Regions from separate parts of the Homo sapiens genome. Here all the other regions are linked to region 5. The links are contacts of gene promoters, found by promoter capture Hi-C in blood cells and fetal thymus (Javierre and others, 2016). All regions are on one chromosome and are shown on one strand. The core of a region is centred on a gene start or on the middle of the fragment in contact, and the rest is flanking DNA. Distances in the headings are between cores, read along the strand shown.

Region 1 (2,768 bases), core at 146-2,645, 410 kb before region 5:
AAACAAAAATAAAAAGCCCCACATACATCCTTCTTCCATTCTCTTTTAAACCTCATTCTTGGTGCGTCTCTGCGGGGAGAAAGGCCCATTTCAAGTCAGTTCCCCGGTGTTAGGATGCAGGCATGTAAACACGACCAGTAATAAAAAGCTGGAAAATGTAATGAGGGAAAAAAGATTCAACTCACTCTCACTACAAAAATTATAAAACAGCTGGGAATAAACTTAATAAGAAATGTCAAAACCTGCATCAAAAAGCTATAAAACTTTACTGAAAAATCTAAAAGAAGACCTGAAGAAAACAAAAACAAAAACAGACGCTACCGTATTCCTGGAGGGGAAGCATTAACATTATAGAAATGTTAATTCTTCATCAATAACTCTGGAAATTCTTTGCTCAATCAAAAGTCAAGAAGTTTCATGGGCTATAACAACTTAAATCTAGATTGGAAAGAATAATGTACAAGACTAGAACTCAAGAAGTTTTTGAAATATTAAAAAATAATGAAGAGAATCTTGCTAAATTCCTTAGGTTGAATAGAAGGAACTTAAGTTATACAGTTTCACACTTGCCATTGAAAAGTAGAAAAATATACTATAATCGGCTGGGCATGGTGGCTCACGTCTGTAATCCCAGCACTTTGAGAGGCCGAGGCGGGCAGATCACGAGGTCAGGAGATCGAGACCATTCTGGCTAACAAGGTGAAACCCCGTCTCTACTAAAAATACAAAAAATTAGCCGGGTGTGGTGGTGGGCGCCTGTAGTCCCAGCTACTTGGGAGGATGAGGCAGGAGAATGGGGTGAACCCAGGAGGCGGAGCTTGCAGTGAGCCGAGATCGTGCCACTGCACTCCAGCCCGGGTAACAGAGCAAGACTCCATCTCAAAAAAAAGAAAAAAAAGAAAAATATACTATAATCAAAATTATTTACTATTAGAATTAAAAATCAGTAATTTAAAAAATGGGACTGTAATAGTTTAAGGTCCTCTTAAAAACAGGACTGTAGAAGATAAAAACCAGGAAAATCTAGTATAGATGGTAATTGACAGAAAGCCCACAACCAGAAGGATTTTATCAATATGACAAACAACACAAACTTTTACTCCATTTGTCTAAAAATCTCTTAAACTGATAGAGAATATATATATTTCAGAAGAGCTAATCCAGGCCAGGGGCGCTGGCTCATGCCTGTAATCCCAGCACTTTGGGAGGCCAAGGCAGGAGGATCGCTTGAGCCCAGGAGTTCGAGATCAGCCTGGGCAACAAAGTGAGACCCCGTTTTTCCCAAAAATGAAATAAATTAGCTGGGCACGTGCGCACCTGTAGTCCTAGCTACTCAACAGGCTGAGGTGGGATCATGCCACTGCACTCCAGCCTGGGAGAAAGAGCAAGCCCCTGTCTCTAAAAACAAAAGAAATGACCAACATTGAGAGCCCTACATATTAAAACCTAGGAGATAAGGCTACAGAGGTCACCTAGAAAAATTAATAGCCTTAACCATATTTGTTAGAAAATAGATAAGAAATGAATAAATTCTGATATAAGACACCATGAGCAGGCACAGATGTGCATGAACACACACACACCCAGACACACAGACACACACACACAGTCACATACACAGACACACAGACACACACACAGACACACAGACACAGACACACACACACACACACAGTTTTCCTTCTTTACTCATAGAAGTGCACTAAAAGAAGAATGTCAAGAAACAGAAAGGAGGCAGGGTGTGGTGGCTCATGCCTGTAATCCCAGCACTTTGGGAAGCCAAGGAGGGTGAATTGCTTGAGGTCAGGAGTTCGAGACCAGCTTGGCCAACATGGTGAAACCCTGCCTCTGCTAAAAATACAAACAATTAGCCAGGCCTGGTGGCACGCACCTGTAATCCCAGCTACTTGGGAGGCCGAGGCAGGAGAATCGCTTGAACCCAGGAGGCAGAGGTTGCAGTGAGCCGAGATCGTGCCATTGCACTCCAGCCTGGGTGACAGAGCAAGACTCCGTCTGAAAAAAAAAAAAAAAGGAAAGGAATAAACCCACCAGAGTGAAGAGAATGTGGTGAGGATGAGAGGTTATCATCAAAGGACAACAACTTTATAGAAAGCATATGGGAATTGATTGATGAATAAAATAGGCAGTAAAAATCCAGGTGAGAATATTTGACAAGGGAGCCACAGAAGAAGTGGGAGTGAGTTTGCTAGATATAACACCAGACAATCAGAATCAGTAGGCATGTGGTAGAAAACGATAGAATTAAATAGGACTGAACACATGGGGATTAATTGAAGGCACCAGTACAGAATGACTGTACCAGTTGGAACCTCCTCTCCCCACCAGACAGCTGAGCTGGGAGCTGGCACAGACCTACAGGGAAAACACCTGACAGTTCTGTAAAGAAATTGATTGAAATGTCGGTGGAGAGCTAAGGCTTCCAGCATGGATGCTGACAACCCCTGAACAATTGTTTCCTCATTCCGGCATCTAGGGGATACTCTGTTCGTCACCTCCCTGTCCTACACAGAGAAGAGTCACAGCAGGAAAACAGACCTATTTGCCCAACAGCAGATTAAATCCACAATACTTATCCAGTCCTTCCTTATTAAATATAAACCAGTCAGTAAATATTATCAGAAATTTGATGAAAGCCTTCAACAGGAAAAAGAGTCAAGATAAACCTGTAGAAAAAATATAAACTTGGAATTCAAGAAAATTCAGGGAATGTATCAAAAAATTTAATTTAATTAACATATCTACAGAAC
Region 2 (2,778 bases), core at 124-2,623, 430 kb before region 5:
TGGAAAGAAAGCCGAGCCTGGCCGGGCGTGGGGGCTCTCACCTGTAATCCCAGCACTCTGGGAGGCCGAGACGGGTAGATCACCTAAGGTCAGGAGTTTGAGGCCAACATGGTGAAACTCCGTCTCTACTAAAAATACAAAAATTAACCGGGCATGGTGGCGGGTGCCTGTAATCCTAGCTGCTTGGGAGGCTAAGGCAGAAGAATTGCTTGAACCCTGGAAGTGGGGGTTGCAGTGAGCCGAGATCATGCCATTGCACTCCAGCCTGGGTGACAGAGAAAGACGTCTCAAAAAAAAAAAAAAAAAAAAAGAAAGAAAAAAGAAAAAAAGAAAAATGCTCCTCTCCACATGTCCTGGCTGGTTGTTCATGCCTCGTCTTCACACAGTGGACTCTCTGAATGGGCCTGAGAGATTCTCTCCTGTCAGAGCCTCTACACATGCTGGTCCTTCCAAAAGACTCATGCATCTCTCCCCACTGATGCTTTGTCCTTGACCTAGCTAATGTTTCCTTGCTGTTCAGGTCTTAGATGCCATTTTTCAAAGAAGTCTCCTCCCTGACCTACCTCCCAATTCTTGGTAGGATCTCCTCTGATTTTTATGTGCTCCCTTAGTGGCTGGAACTTCTCTCCATCACAGAAGTTAGCCTCTTGTAAAGTCATAGCCCATTTGCCTGTCTGTACCTCCCATTAGACCAGAAGACTGCTGAGGGTAGGATAGTTTCCAGCAGCTAGCACAGTAACTGACACATAATAAATGCTCAATTAGTACAGCTTAAAAAAGTACTGCTATATAAAGAGTTCAACAGTCACAGAACAACAAAGCAACCACAGCCTGTTCCTGAATACTTCTAGGACACCTCTTATGCATATTACAGCATGAGGAGGCAGAAGGTCCAGCAGCAGAGGGAGATTCTCCAACCCCGAGTACCAAGGAACTACCACAACCTAGAATGGTCCCAAAATAAAAATGCTCCACTTTCTTCAAGGTTCACAAACAAGAACTGGGCAAGTTCCCCTTGTCGAGTAAAAAGGTCCTTCCCTCACATGCCCTACTCAGATGAGGTCACTTTTGATGAAATGGAAGTTTCCAAAGTTTTGCTTTCTAGTGCTAACTGCTAAAAACTTCTTCCTAGCCTAACAGCTCTGTGATCTCTACAAACAGTATTGCAGTGATAAATTCGTATGCTTATCTACTTACACGCAACTTTTTCTCTAATGGTCTGCAAATAAAAGGCTACTCTTGTCGGGCTCCATGGCTCATGGTTGTAATCTCGGCACTTTGGGAGGCCAAGGCAGGAGGATTACTCAAGCCCAAGGAGTTCAAGACCAGCCTGGGCAACACAGTGAAACCCCGTGTCTACCAAAAATAAAAATAAAAATAAAAATAAAAAATTTAGCCAGGCATGGCGGCACATCCCTGTAGTCCCAGCTACAAGAGAGCCTGAGGTGGGAGGATCACATCAGCCCCGGAGTTCAAGGCTGCAGTAAGCTATGATCATGCTGTTGCACTCCAGTCTGGGTGATGGAGTGGGATCCTGTCTCTAAAAAAACATTAAAAAAAATAAGTAAAAAATTTAAAAACTGGTTAAATAAATTGTGGTACATCCATAACAGACTATTTAAACCCAACCCTTAAAAGGAATGATACGGCTCTGTATGAACCGATTCTAAATAATCTACAGGATACATTAAAATAAACAAATGTGCACAATATTTTATAGTATGTGTAAAAACACAACGCCCACATACCCTTGTGTATTTATACACACATGTAAAATATATACACAAACCTAAACACACAAAAATATGTCCAATAGAGACAAAGAGTAGAATAGTAGTTGCCAGAGGGTGGGGTGGGGGAAAGGGGAGAAGTGGGAGTTAGTGTTTAATAGGTATGAAATTTCAGTTTTGCAAGACGAAAGGTTGTAGAGATGGATGGTAGTAATGGCTGTACAACAATGTGAATGTACTCAGTGCCACTGAACTGTACAGTTAAGATGATTAAAACTGTAAATTGTTATATATATCGATATATATTTTTTGAGACGGAGTCTCGGTCTGTCGCCCAGGCTGGAGTGCAGTGACGCGATCTCGGCTCACTGCAAGCTCCGCCTCCTGGGTTCACGCCATTCTCCTGCCTCAGGCTCTCAGAGTAGCTGGGACTACAGGCGCCCGCCACCATGCCCGGCTAATTTTTTGTATTTTTAGTAAAGACGAGGTTTCACCGTGCTCGCCAGGATGGTCTCGATCTCCTGACCTCGTGATCAGCCTGCCTCGGCCTCCCAAAGTGCTGGGATTACAGGCGTGAGCCACCACGCCCAGCCTGTTATATATATTTTATAATAAAAATTTAACACACGGGTACACACACGCTTTTTTTTTTGAGATGGAGTCTCATTCTGTTGCCAGGCTGGAGTGCAGCGGCGTGATCTCAGTTCACTGCAACCTCTGCCTCCCAGGTTCAAGCGATTCTCCTGCCTCAGCCTCCCGAGTAGCTGGGACTACAGGTGCCCGCCACCATGCCCGGCTAATTTTTTGTATTTTTAGTAGAGATGGGGTTTTACCATGTTGGCCAAGATGGTCTCGATCTCTTGACCTCATGATCCACCCACCTCCACCTCCCAAAGTGCTAGGATTACAGGCGTGAGCCACCGTGCCCGGCCACAATTTTTTTTTTTTTTTAAAGAAACAGGTAATAGTGGCTGCCTCCAGGGAAAGAAATGAATGTTTGGGGCAGGGTAGCAGAGATACTTTACAATATAACTCTTTTTTTTTTTTT
Region 3 (2,700 bases), core at 100-2,599, 460 kb before region 5:
CTTGAATCTGATTAAGTTTTCACCTGAAAAGTGTGGGTAAGGACAAGCCTGCCTTGTTGGGTAGTACAGATTCAGTGAATGAGCCCTCAGATCCTGCTGGATCCCGTGATCAGATAAACAGCAGCTTCTCAGGAACCACTGCATGTGAGGTTAGGGTGAGGGGAGGGACCCGATGGAGATCTAATCCCAGGGGTTTGGTCACAGGGGCTGGCGAATGAGAGGTGGAGACCGGGAACATACGCCACTTTTTTTTTTTTTTTTTTTTTTTTTGAGACGGGGTCTCACTGTGTCACCCAGGCTGGAGTGCAGTGGCACCATCTTGGCTCACTGCAACCTCCGCCCCCCAGGTTCAAGCGATTCTCCTGCCTCAGCCACCCAAGTAGCTGGGATTACAGGCGCCTGCCACTGCGCCTGGCTAGTTTTTCTATTTTTAGTAGAGACGGGGTTTCACCATCTCGGCCAGGCTGGTTTTGAACTCCTGACCTCGTGATCCACCCACCTCGGCCTCCCACAGTGCGGGGATTACAGGCGTGAGCCACTGCGCCCGGCCAGCCACTCTTTTTTTTTGAGATGGAGTTTCGCTCTTGTTGGCCGGGCTGGAATGCAATGGCACGATCTCGGCTCACTGCACCCTCCATCTCCCAGGTTCAAGTGATTCTCCTGGCTCAGCCTCCCAAGTAGCTGGGATTACAGGCATGCGCCACCACGCCCAGCTAATTTTGTATTTTTAGTAGGGACGGGATTTCTCCATGTTGGTCAGGCTGGTCTTGAACTCCTGACCTCAGGTGATCCACCTGCCTTGGCCTCCCAAAGTGCTGGGATTACAGGCATGAGCCACCAGGCCCAGCCTAAGCCACTCTTTTGGAAAGCTCAGCAGAGAAGATGCATGAGGTAATACGACGCGTTAGGTGGCCTTTAAAGGGATGTTTATAGCTTTTCATAACATGGGTGTATTAGTCTGCTCAAGCTATAACAAAATAGTACAGACTGGGGGGCCTATTCAACTGAAATTTCTCACAGTTCTGGAGGCTAGAAGTCCAAGATCAAGGTGTCAGCACATTCAGCCCCTGGTGAGGGCTCTCTTTCTGACTTGGAGATGGCTGCCTTCTCATTGCATACTCACATGGTGGAGAAAGCAAGCTCTCTGCTGTCTCTTGTTATAAGGACACTAATCTCATCATGCGAAACCCACCCTCCCTCCTGATTTCATCTAAACCTAACCACCTCTCAAATACCCCATCTCCAAATAACATCACATTGGAGGTTTGAGCTTCAACACTGGAATTTTGGGGGACACAAACATTCAGTCCATAACAGTGCTGATGTTTATGTTTTAATGTTAAATGATAACAGCACAGCACAGCAGCACACACACTGTGTGATGCCAATCTGTTTGTTTGTTTGTTTGTTTGTTTTTTTAGATAGGTTCTCACTCTGTTGCCTGGGCTATAGCAGTAGTGTGATCACACCTCACTGCAACCTCGACCTCCAGGTTCAAGCAATCCTCCCACCTCAGCCTCTCAAAGTGCTGGGATTCCAGGCATGAGCCACCATGCCTGGCCTCCAATTTGTATTTAATGCCACTGAACTGTACATTTAAAAATGGTAAATTTTAGGTGATGTGTATTTTACTACAATTTTTTTAAAAGTCTAAGAGAAGGCAAGAAAGGAGAAGGAAAATTTAAAAGAACAGAAAATATGGAAAAATAGAATGCACAAATATGCTATAAATGAATCTAAATACATCAGAAATCAAATAGATGTTAAAGGACGAAACAGACAATGGATTTTTTAAAAAATCTCGAGGCCGGGTGCGGTGGCTCACGCCTGTAATCCCAGCACTTTGGGAGGCTGAGGCGGGCGGATCACGAGGTCAGGAGATCGAGACCATCCTGGCTGACACGGTGAAACCCCGTCTCTACTAAAAATACAAAAAAAAAAAAAAAAAAAAAATCAGCCACGCGTGGTGGCGGGCACCTGTAGTCCCAGCTACTCTGGAGGCTGAAGCAGGAGAATGGCATGAACCCGGGGGGCGGAGCTTGCAGTGAGCCGAGATCGCGCCACCGCACTCCAGCCTGGGCGACAGAGCAAGACTCCGTCTCAAAAAAAAAAAAAAAAAAAAAATCTAGCTATCAGCTGGGCATGGTGGCTCACGTCTGTAATTCCAACACTTTGGGAGGCTGAGGCGGGTGATCAGCTGAGGTGAGGAGTTTGAGACCAGCCTGGCCAACATGGTGAAACCACATCTCTACTAAAAATACAAAATTAGCCGGGTGTGGTGGCACGTGCCTGTAGTCCCAGCTACTCAGGAGGCTGCGGCAGGAGAATTGTTTTGAACCTGGGAGGTGGAGGTTGCAGTGAGCCGAGATCACGCCATTGCACTCCAGCCTGGGCAACAAGAGCAAAACTCCGTCTCAAAAAAAAAAAATCTAGCTATCTGACATTTTCAAAAGCTCCACCTCACTGATGCATAAAGACACAGAAAGGAGGAAAATAAAAAACTGGGATGGCCGGGCGTGGTGGCTCACACCTGTAATCCCAACACTTTTAGAGGCCAAGGCTGGTGAACTGCTTGAGCCCAGGAGTTTGAGACCAGTCTGGGCAACATGGCAAAACCCTGTCTCTACTAAAAATACAAAAACTTAGCCAGGCGCGCTGGTGCAAGCCTGTAATCCCAGCTACTCAGGAGGCTGAGGTGGG
Region 4 (2,700 bases), core at 106-2,605, 480 kb before region 5:
GCCGGGTTCAAGTTATTCTCCTGCCTCAGCCTCCGGAGTAGCTGGGATCACAGGCGTGTGCTACCACGCCAGGCTAATTTTTGTATGTTTAGTGGAGACGGGGTTTCACCATGTTGGGCAGGCTGGTCTCGAACTCCTGACCTCAGGTGATCGACCCGCCTCAGCCTCCCAAAGTGCTGGGATTACAGGCGTGAGCCACCGTGCCCAGCCAGAGCTTCCTTTTCATGTCTCTGAGTCTTACAGCTCTCAATGGGAAATGACGAAGAACCCTGGAAAGCTAGGTGTGGCCTGTTGCCCACCAGAGATCAGCCTTTGAGAATGGACCCCTAGGCAGCTCCCCAGCTCCCCATAAAGGAGGGAGGGAAGGGGAGCCACCAGCAGAGTGGGCCAAGAAAGCAGACAGATGGGAATCGCTACTTCTACACAATCCATCATGGCACTGCCTAACGCCAGGGCTGCTCCCTAGAACCCGGACGGTCCTAATGTCAGAGAAAAACAGTGAACTAATGGGAAAGATCTGGCTTCTTCGAAACTCTCATTTGCATTTCCCAAATACCTTAATCACCATGAGGTCAAACTATAAACCTAAACGTGACGTAAGGAATGCCTTCTAGAAATCTATGCTAAAGAGACACCTCCAGAAATCTCAAAGAACATATGCATGATGTTATTTGCTACAACATTATTTTTACCAGCCAAAGGCTTCCAATACCCCCGATCCCTATCACCAGGGCACTTGCTGAATAAACTTATGGTGCGCCCACACACTGGAGTACTGTGCAGATCCAAAGGGACTAAACAAGAGCTCTAAGAACTGCGATGGAGTCATTTCCAGGATCCACTGTGAAGCAAAGGGAGCAAAGCGCAAACATATCTACTGCATTCTACCAAAGAAAGAAGGGGGGGTATTAAGGAAGGACACACCAGGAACTAATGAAATTGATTCCCTGCATGGGGTAGGGGGAAAAAGGTAAGGGTACAGGCACAGGAGTGAGGCCTAGCTGAACATGCCTCAGTGTAATTCTGACTTCTGAATCATGTAAATGTTTATATTACCCAAAATAAAATTCAAACTAAAAGTAACAAAACCTTATTACACTTAATGCAAATAAAAACAAATGAGTTCGGGCCAGGCATGGTGGCTTCAGCCTACGATCCCAGCACTTTGGGAGGCCGAGGCGGGTCGATCACCTGAGGTCAGGAGTATGAGGCTGCAGTGAGCCATGACTACATCACTGCACTCCAGCCTGAGTGACAGAGCAAGACCCTGTCTCTCTCTCTCTCTTTTTTTTTTTTTGAGACAGAGTCTTGCTAGAGTGCCATGGCGTGATCTTGGCTCACTGCAACCTCCGACTCCTGAGTTCAAGCCTTCTCCTGCCTCAGCTTCCCGAGTAGCTGGGATTACAGGTACCTGCCATCACGCCCGGCTAATTTTTGTATTTTTAGCAGAGACGGGGTTTCACCATGCTGGCCAGGTTGGTCTTGAATTCCTGACCTCAGGCGATCCACCCACCTTGGCTTCCCAAAGTGCCGGGATTACAGGCATGAGACACCACGCCTGGCCAAGACCCTGTCTCTTAAAAAAAAAAAAAAAGAAAAGAAAAAAGAAAAGAAACAAATTTAATTCTATATCAAATTGACAATATACCACAGAGAAAAGATTTATTTCAAATGACTTTTGACTACAGTGCTCTGCAAACCTGTAGTGGGACATATTCTAAGGCCAACAATAACACTCCAGGGGCAGTAAACACACTAGATTGGCTCCCAGGAGAGATATGTGATTCTGCTTCTGGGGCATCTTGTGCCAGAAAGCCCGGGGAGTGCAAGAGAAAAACAGGGAGGGCCCATGAGAGGCCTCTAGCAGTGGTCCAGGTGTGGCCCAGGGTGGGGGCAGTTGAGGATTTGGGGCTGGTCTAGGTGGTGAAGCAACAGAGCTCGCAGGTGGATTAGTGTGGGGGTGAGGGGCAAGGGTGAGTCAGGGACCATGTCCAAAGCCTGGGAAGATGGTGGTGCCACTGATTGAGAAGGAAAAGACTGAGGGGCCGGCTGGGTGCAGTGGCTCTCACCTGTAATCCCAGCACTGTGGGAGGCTGAGGCAGGTGGATCACCTGAGGTCTGGAGTTCGAGCCCAACCTGGCCAACATGGTGAAACTCCGTCTCTACTAAAAATACAAAAATGAGCCGGGCGTGGTGGCAGGTGCCTGTAAGTCCCAGCTACATGGAAGGCTGAGGGAGAAGAATCGCCTGAACCCAGGAGGCAGAGGTCGCAGTGAGCTGAGATCGCAAGACTCCGTCTCAAAAAAACAAAAACAAAAACAAAACCACTGGAGCGGCAGGGGAGCAACACCCACAGAGACAGTTATACCATCAAGGAGAGAAAACAGTTCTTCAGCTACTCGCTAGAAAGGGGGGAAACCCCGCTGTGATCAGATTCTGAGTTGGGCCTGAATGAAAATGAACTGTCTGCTTGGGGTTTTAAAGGCTTTTTATTGTGGTAAAATATACAAAACAGGTCAGGTGTGGTGGCTTACACTTGTAATCCCAGCACTTTGGGAGGTGAGGCAGGTGGATCGCTTGAGCTCAGGAGTTTGAGACCAGCCTGGGCAACATAGCAAAACCCTGTCTCTACAAAAAAAAAAAAAAAAAAAAAAAATTAGCTGGGCATGGTGGTGTGTGCCTGTAATCCTAGCTACTCGG
Region 5 (2,700 bases), core at 7-2,506:
AGGCTCATTTTTTTGTATTTTTTTAGTAGAGATGAGGATTCACCATGTTGGCCAGGCTGGTCTCGAACTCCTGACTTCAAGTGATCCTCCCACCTCGGCCTCCCAAAGTGCTAGGATTACAGGCGTGAGCCACCGCGCCCGGCCTGTAGTGTGTTTTTAGATGATGTCATCTACTCCTAGCTCTTTAATTAAGCACCATGTGTCAATGACTTTCTATTTTCTAGTTCCAGCCGTGGCCTCTCTTGAAACCACTCCCTGCCAGCTGGTTCCTCAGTGGCCAGCTCCACCTGGATATGTCCACAAAGTTACCACCTTAGCAAGTCTGAAGTCCAATTCCCGAGTTGTTTCTACTCTCCACCCAGCCCCAACCTATCCCTCCCCAAGGATCTTCATCTTACTTGTCCAGGTGACAGTAGGGCTGTCATCGGGTTCATGTCGAAGCCCACAGCCACTTTTGTCACTTCCCCTCTAAGACCACGCCTCTCCACCTGGACTGCCCACCTCCTCTCTCTCACCACTCATTTTCCAAAAAGCAGCTGGTCTGCTACCTGCGTTGGGAGATACTGACTATACTAATCCTCATGTCATAGCTCGGGGAGCTGACGTCCTCAGAGGTGAAAGGATTTGGTTAAGGTCAAGGAACGAGTGTTTGTGCAGAGTCCTCCATTTCCAAAACCAAACCCAGTGGTTCACCCGGGCCTCTCCAGACACAGATGTCGCGACGCTGGGCCTCCAGCCAGGTGCCCTTTTCAACTCCCTCCCGTTCGCTGTGGAAGCCACCCACCTGCCAACCTCATGTCCACTTCTCCTGCTGGGTTGGGACCGCCGGCAAGTGCACTGTTTGGGGGCAAAGCGGAAGGACAGGTTTGGGTGGGGGTCAGGGGCAAGCCTGTGCGGGACCCCTGCTGGGGGCGGGCGCGATCGGTGCTACGACCTGTTTGTCCAGCCGCCCGGCCAGGCAGGGCTCCTCGGAAACGCGCGGGGAAACCCTGCCTGGCCAGGAGGGGCCTCAGGAACCCGTTGGCTCACGATCTTGCCCACAGGAGCCTCCGGGGCTGGGACGAAGATGTGGTTCTCCTGGGCTCGGGCCGTTCCTCCGGGCCTGGGGGCTGGCGATGCGGGCCGGGCCGGAGATTTCTCTGGCCGTGGGGAGACGTGGGCTCGGTCAGGGAGGTTCCCTGTCAGGCCCGCCGACCCGCTCCGCCCCGGGAGAGGACGCAAGGCCGCTGCGCAGGGTGGCCAGGCAGGCCCGGCAATGGCGGCTAAGGGCGGGGCCACAGCCCGCCGGCCCCGCCCCCGGCAGCAGCTGCGCCGTCTGGCTCCACGCAGGCCCCGCCTCCAGACCCGCCTCTACCGCTCGCGCTGGCCGCCGCATGGGAGGGGCCTGAACCTGTCCCGCCCCGAACCTGTCCCGCCCCTGGATCCCTCGTCGGCCCCACCTCCGCAGTGCGTTCAGGCTGAACCCACCGGCCGCCGAGTGGGAGGGGCCCACGTCGGTCCCGCCCCGGAAGTCTCCCCTCGGCCCTTTCTCGGGTGGGAGAGCCCTGCCTACCCAGGCTTAGAGGGCTGGGGCTGCGCTTGCACCCTGAGGTCAGATTTGTGAGTCGTGGGAAGACGCAGATGGATCTGGGGCAGAATTAGAACCTGTTCCAAAGTTGATCCATGCGCTTTGTAAAGGCAAGGGAGGTACAGAGGCGCAGATAGGGAAGACCGCAGGATCCAGCGTGAGCCTCTGGCTGCCTTTCCTTAGGGTCTGTTTTCTGTCCAGAAGCGCGTTCCTGCTGTCTCTCGTTATCACTTTTATAATGGGACGGGGCGTCTCAAACTATTTCGACATCCTTGAAAACTCTTGCCTGCTCCGCCTGCCTGGTCTCTAACACCCTCCTCCTCAGAGCTGCTCAAGCTGTGTTGTTTACGCCACACCCCACCCTAAAAGCAGAGGAGAATACAACTTTCGGGGGCAGTGGAGGGGGGAGTTTAGCGCTATAACCCGAGGCTTTCACAGCAAACCAGAATTTATTTTGAGGCCTCTCAGGTTCAGCTTTCAAGTCACGTGACTTTCGCGTCCTACACAACTCTTATTTTCACTTGAAAACAAGTGTGACGTCGTGAATTCCCTAACAATAGGAAAAAAGAAGGCTCCAGAAAGAGCGGTGCTTGGCTTTCCCAGCGGCTCCAAATGGTGCCCGGCACCCAGCTGGCTGTATGGACCTGGGGTGGTCTCCGGCCGCAGGCAGACGCGGCCCTTCGGCCTTTCTCCAGTCACCCCAATTCTCCCTGACTGCCTGGCTATCTCCCCTCCGCGCCTGCCCGCACGCTGCCCCCAACACTGCCCGGGCTCCCTCTGCCCATGAGAACACGGGTCAAGCTCCCGTCCCTTCTGCCCTGCCGGCTGCCCCAAGTGCGCCCTGACCACCTACTGCGCTGGCATGGCCGGGGCCACCCTGACAGCTGATCCATCATCTGTCTGGAGAGCAGCAGCAGGGCCCAATGAGAACCACGGAAACCTCCCTGCCCTTTGACCCAACTTACGGGAATCTCCTACCCTTAGGGAAACAATGCAAAATATAGAGAAAGTTTATAGAGCCGGGCATGGGAGAGCCCTGGTTAGAATCCAGCAGCTTCTATACTGGAGTACTCAACAGGGTCAAGGTCCCTTTCAGCTGCCTGCTGCTGGGGCCAGGGCTTTGCATTTGCGTT
Region 6 (2,700 bases), core at 129-2,628, 400 kb before region 5:
GGTCTCGCTTTATCACCCAGGCTGGAGTGCAGTGGCATGATCTCAGCTCACTGCAGCCTCAACCTCCTGGGCTCAAGCGATCCTCTTGCCTCAGCTCCCCAAGTAGCTGGGATGACAGGCATGTGCCACCACCGGCAATTTGTGTGTGTGTGTGTGTGTGTGTGTGTGTGTGTGTGTGTGTGTGTCTATTATTTGTAGAGATGAGGTTTCACCATGTTAACCAGGCTGGTCTCAAACTCCTGAGTTCAAGCAATCTGCCTGCCTTAGCCTCCCAAAGTGCTAGGCTTACTGACATGAGCCACCATGCCCTGCTGATCATGTAATTTTTCTTCTTTAACATTAATTTGGTTAATTACAATAAATGATTTTATATTATTAAACTAACTTTGCACTCCTGAGATAAACACATCTTGGTCACCATGTATTATCTTTTTTTTTCCTTTTGTTTGGTTTTTTTTGAGACAGCATCTCGCTCTGTCTCCCAGGCTGGAGTGCAGTGGCACAATCTCGGCTCACTGCAACCTCCACCTCCTGGGTTCAAACGATTCTCCTGCCTGACCCTCCCGAGTAGCTGGGATTATAGGTGCACGCCACCAGGCCCAGCTAATTTTTTGTATTTTTAGTAGAGACTGGATTTCGCCATGTTGGCCAGGCTGGTCTTGAACTCCTGACCTCAGGTGATCCACCCGCCTCAGCCTCCCAAAGTGCTGGGATTACAGGCGTGAGCCACCGTGCCCAGTCCAGTCACCATGTATTATCTTTTTTACATATTGCTAGTATTCTGTTTGGGATTTCTGAATCTCTGCCTACAAGTGAAGTTGGCTTATAATTTTCTTTCTCATAATGTCCTTGACAGGTTTTGGTTTCAAGGTTATGTTTGCCTTCTAACAAGAGTGGAGCCTCTTTTTCTTAATTCTCTGAAAGAGTTTGTGTAAAATTAGAACTATTGCTTCTTGAATATTTGATAGATCTTGCTGATGAAGTCATCTAGGCCTAGAGTTTGGTTTGAACGGAAGATATTTTATTACTAACAAAAAATTTATAATTATATGACTATTTAGGGTCTTTGCTTTTTCTTGAGTCAATACTGGTAATTTCTTTTTCTAGGACTTTGTTCATTTCAACTGTATTTTCAAATGTATTGGCACAAAGTTATTCACAATAGCCATTACTTTAAAATCCTGTCTGCATCTGTGGTTATAGCCATTTTCCATTCATAGTATAGTTTCCATGTGCCTTTTCTCTTGTTTCTCTCAATGAGGACTGTAAATGTCATTAGTCCTGCCAGGGAAGCTTCTGCCTCTGACAGGCGTCACTGCTTTGCTCCCTGCTCTAAGGAGTCACCTGTGTGAAGTTTTTCCTTTTCCCATCAATCATGTCGCCATCCTCCTGGCAACAGTATAGATTGGTGTCTGACGTAGGAATGACACAAAGACCCCATCCAAAAGTAGCCAAACTTTATTTCAAGCTTAAGAAAATGCATATTTTCTCCAAACTTAAGCAGAACATTGTTATGAGAAAAAAACTGGACTTTCTTGCACTGTATTTCTTTTTTAGGGGGAGGGGGGAAGGGGAGATGGAGTCTCGCTCTGTCGCCCAGGCTGGAGAGCAGTGGTGCGATCTTGGCTCACTGCAACCTCCGCCTCCTGGGTTCAAGCAGTTCTCTGCCTCAGCCTCCCAAGTAGCTAGGATTACAGGCGCCCACCATCACGCCCGGCTAATTTTTGTATTTTTAGTAGAGACAGGGTTTCACCATGTTGGCCAAGCTGGTCTTGAACTCCTGACCTCATGATCCACCCGCCTCGGCCTCCCAAAGTGCTGGGATTACAAGCGTGAGCCACCGCACCCGGCCTCTTGCACTGTATTTCTGTTGGAAGATCACAACCATGTTGCTCATTCTTTCTTATTAAGATTCCCATATCTGGTGTTTCTTGGAGATGTATCTAGGTCAACATGACCCAGGTTTAACCCAAACAACTCATAAAAACATGGCAGACTTTTAGCCCTTGGGAAATGAACTTGCTTTGGCCCTACTGAAGAGACTCATTTAAACCCTCCTCTTCCTCTGAAGCCTGTCCCTGAGAACTCCACCTTCCCTTTCTCTTTTCAGGCTGCCTGGCTGCACTTGGACCTACGCTCATCATCTCTTTGGCTGTTTCCATTGTTTAGAGGTTCCCCTCAATGTCCCTGGCCTCAGGATAGCTGCCACTGGAGCACAGCCCTGGCCTGGGAAGTCCCAGCAGGACCCCAGAGGCTCCTTGAGTCTCTTACCTTCCTTCCCAGGAGGACTGTCACTGAGGGGGGAGCCGAACTTTGGTCACAGCAATTGAGCTGCTTTCTAAGCTCTCATCTGTCCAAGTGTGATGTCCACTGGAAGTTTCTGGTCCTTTGGCCCATTTTGATTAGTTCCTCTTGTCTTCCAGGGTGAGAGACCAAAAGTCCTGTTTCTGTAAATCATGGCTGTGTGCCAGTATACAAAACTGACAAGACCCCTTAGGACATTTGTCTTCCAATTTTGAAACCGGAAGCCTGGATGAAGTGTCCTGTCTCCCAGATTGAAATCTTGGAAAACCTGTTTGTGACACCATTGGTTATCTTCTCTGTGCTTCCCGTCTGTGGCCAGAATTGTGCCCAAGAGCCTGGGCCAGAGCCAGCCGAGTAGCCCTGCCCTGTGGACCCAGGGGTCTTTTTATAGTTAAC

Evidence for each region. Contacts are between HindIII fragments. The CHiCAGO score rates a contact against its expected background, and 5 or more counts as called.
Region 1: a fragment that was not itself captured here is called in contact with the fragment with the promoter of FAM3A in region 5 in 2 of 17 cell types (monocytes and neutrophils); the score reaches 5.5 in monocytes.
Region 2: a fragment that was not itself captured here is called in contact with the fragment with the promoter of FAM3A in region 5 in 2 of 17 cell types (total CD8 T cells and naive CD4 T cells); the score reaches 5.4 in total CD8 T cells.
Region 3: a contact is called between a fragment that was not itself captured here and the fragment with the promoter of FAM3A in region 5, in 8 of 17 cell types (neutrophils, monocytes, non-activated CD4 T cells and 5 more). The highest score is 10.1, in neutrophils.
Region 4: a contact is called between a fragment that was not itself captured here and the fragment with the promoter of FAM3A in region 5, in 4 of 17 cell types (monocytes, neutrophils, total CD8 T cells and 1 more). The highest score is 11.1, in monocytes.
Region 6: a contact is called between a fragment that was not itself captured here and the fragment with the promoter of FAM3A in region 5, in 6 of 17 cell types (monocytes, activated CD4 T cells, naive B cells and 3 more). The highest score is 15.3, in monocytes.

The regions. Positions count from the first base shown.
Region 1 is chrX:154,103,026-154,105,793 of GRCh38, forward strand. No RefSeq gene overlaps it. Among named protein-coding and RNA genes, the nearest start is that of MECP2, 6.7 kb to the left of the region's middle. The HindIII fragment of the contact is 9,158 bases long and covers 1-2,768 here.
Region 2 is chrX:154,083,899-154,086,676 of GRCh38, forward strand. The region is part of intron 1 of MECP2 (methyl-CpG binding protein 2); the gene reads right to left. Among named protein-coding and RNA genes, the nearest start is that of MECP2, 12 kb to the right of the region's middle. The HindIII fragment of the contact is 4,984 bases long and covers 1-2,778 here.
Region 3 is chrX:154,052,210-154,054,909 of GRCh38, forward strand. All of the region lies in intron 1 of MECP2 (methyl-CpG binding protein 2), which reads right to left. Among named protein-coding and RNA genes, the nearest start is that of MIR718, 34 kb to the left of the region's middle. The HindIII fragment of the contact is 7,842 bases long and covers 1-2,700 here.
Region 4 is chrX:154,034,321-154,037,020 of GRCh38, forward strand. The region is part of intron 1 of MECP2 (methyl-CpG binding protein 2); the gene reads right to left. Among named protein-coding and RNA genes, the nearest start is that of MIR718, 16 kb to the left of the region's middle. RefSeq lists an enhancer at 1,584-2,149. The HindIII fragment of the contact is 6,646 bases long and covers 1-2,700 here.
Region 5 is chrX:154,514,976-154,517,675 of GRCh38, forward strand. It overlaps FAM3A (FAM3 metabolism regulating signaling molecule A), which reads right to left and starts at 1,257. Exons shown (of 9, transcript NM_021806.4): 1 at 785-1,257. The coding sequence starts at 797. It overlaps LOC124905229 (a long non-coding RNA gene), which reads left to right and starts at 505. Exons shown (of 2, transcript XR_007068357.1): 1 at 505-740. RefSeq lists enhancers at 525-1,148, 1,149-1,771 and silencers at 1,122-1,531, 1,747-1,903. The HindIII fragment of the contact is 19,151 bases long and covers 1-2,700 here.
Region 6 is chrX:154,119,383-154,122,082 of GRCh38, forward strand. No RefSeq gene overlaps it. Among named protein-coding and RNA genes, the nearest start is that of MECP2, 23 kb to the left of the region's middle. The HindIII fragment of the contact is 175 bases long and covers 1,292-1,466 here.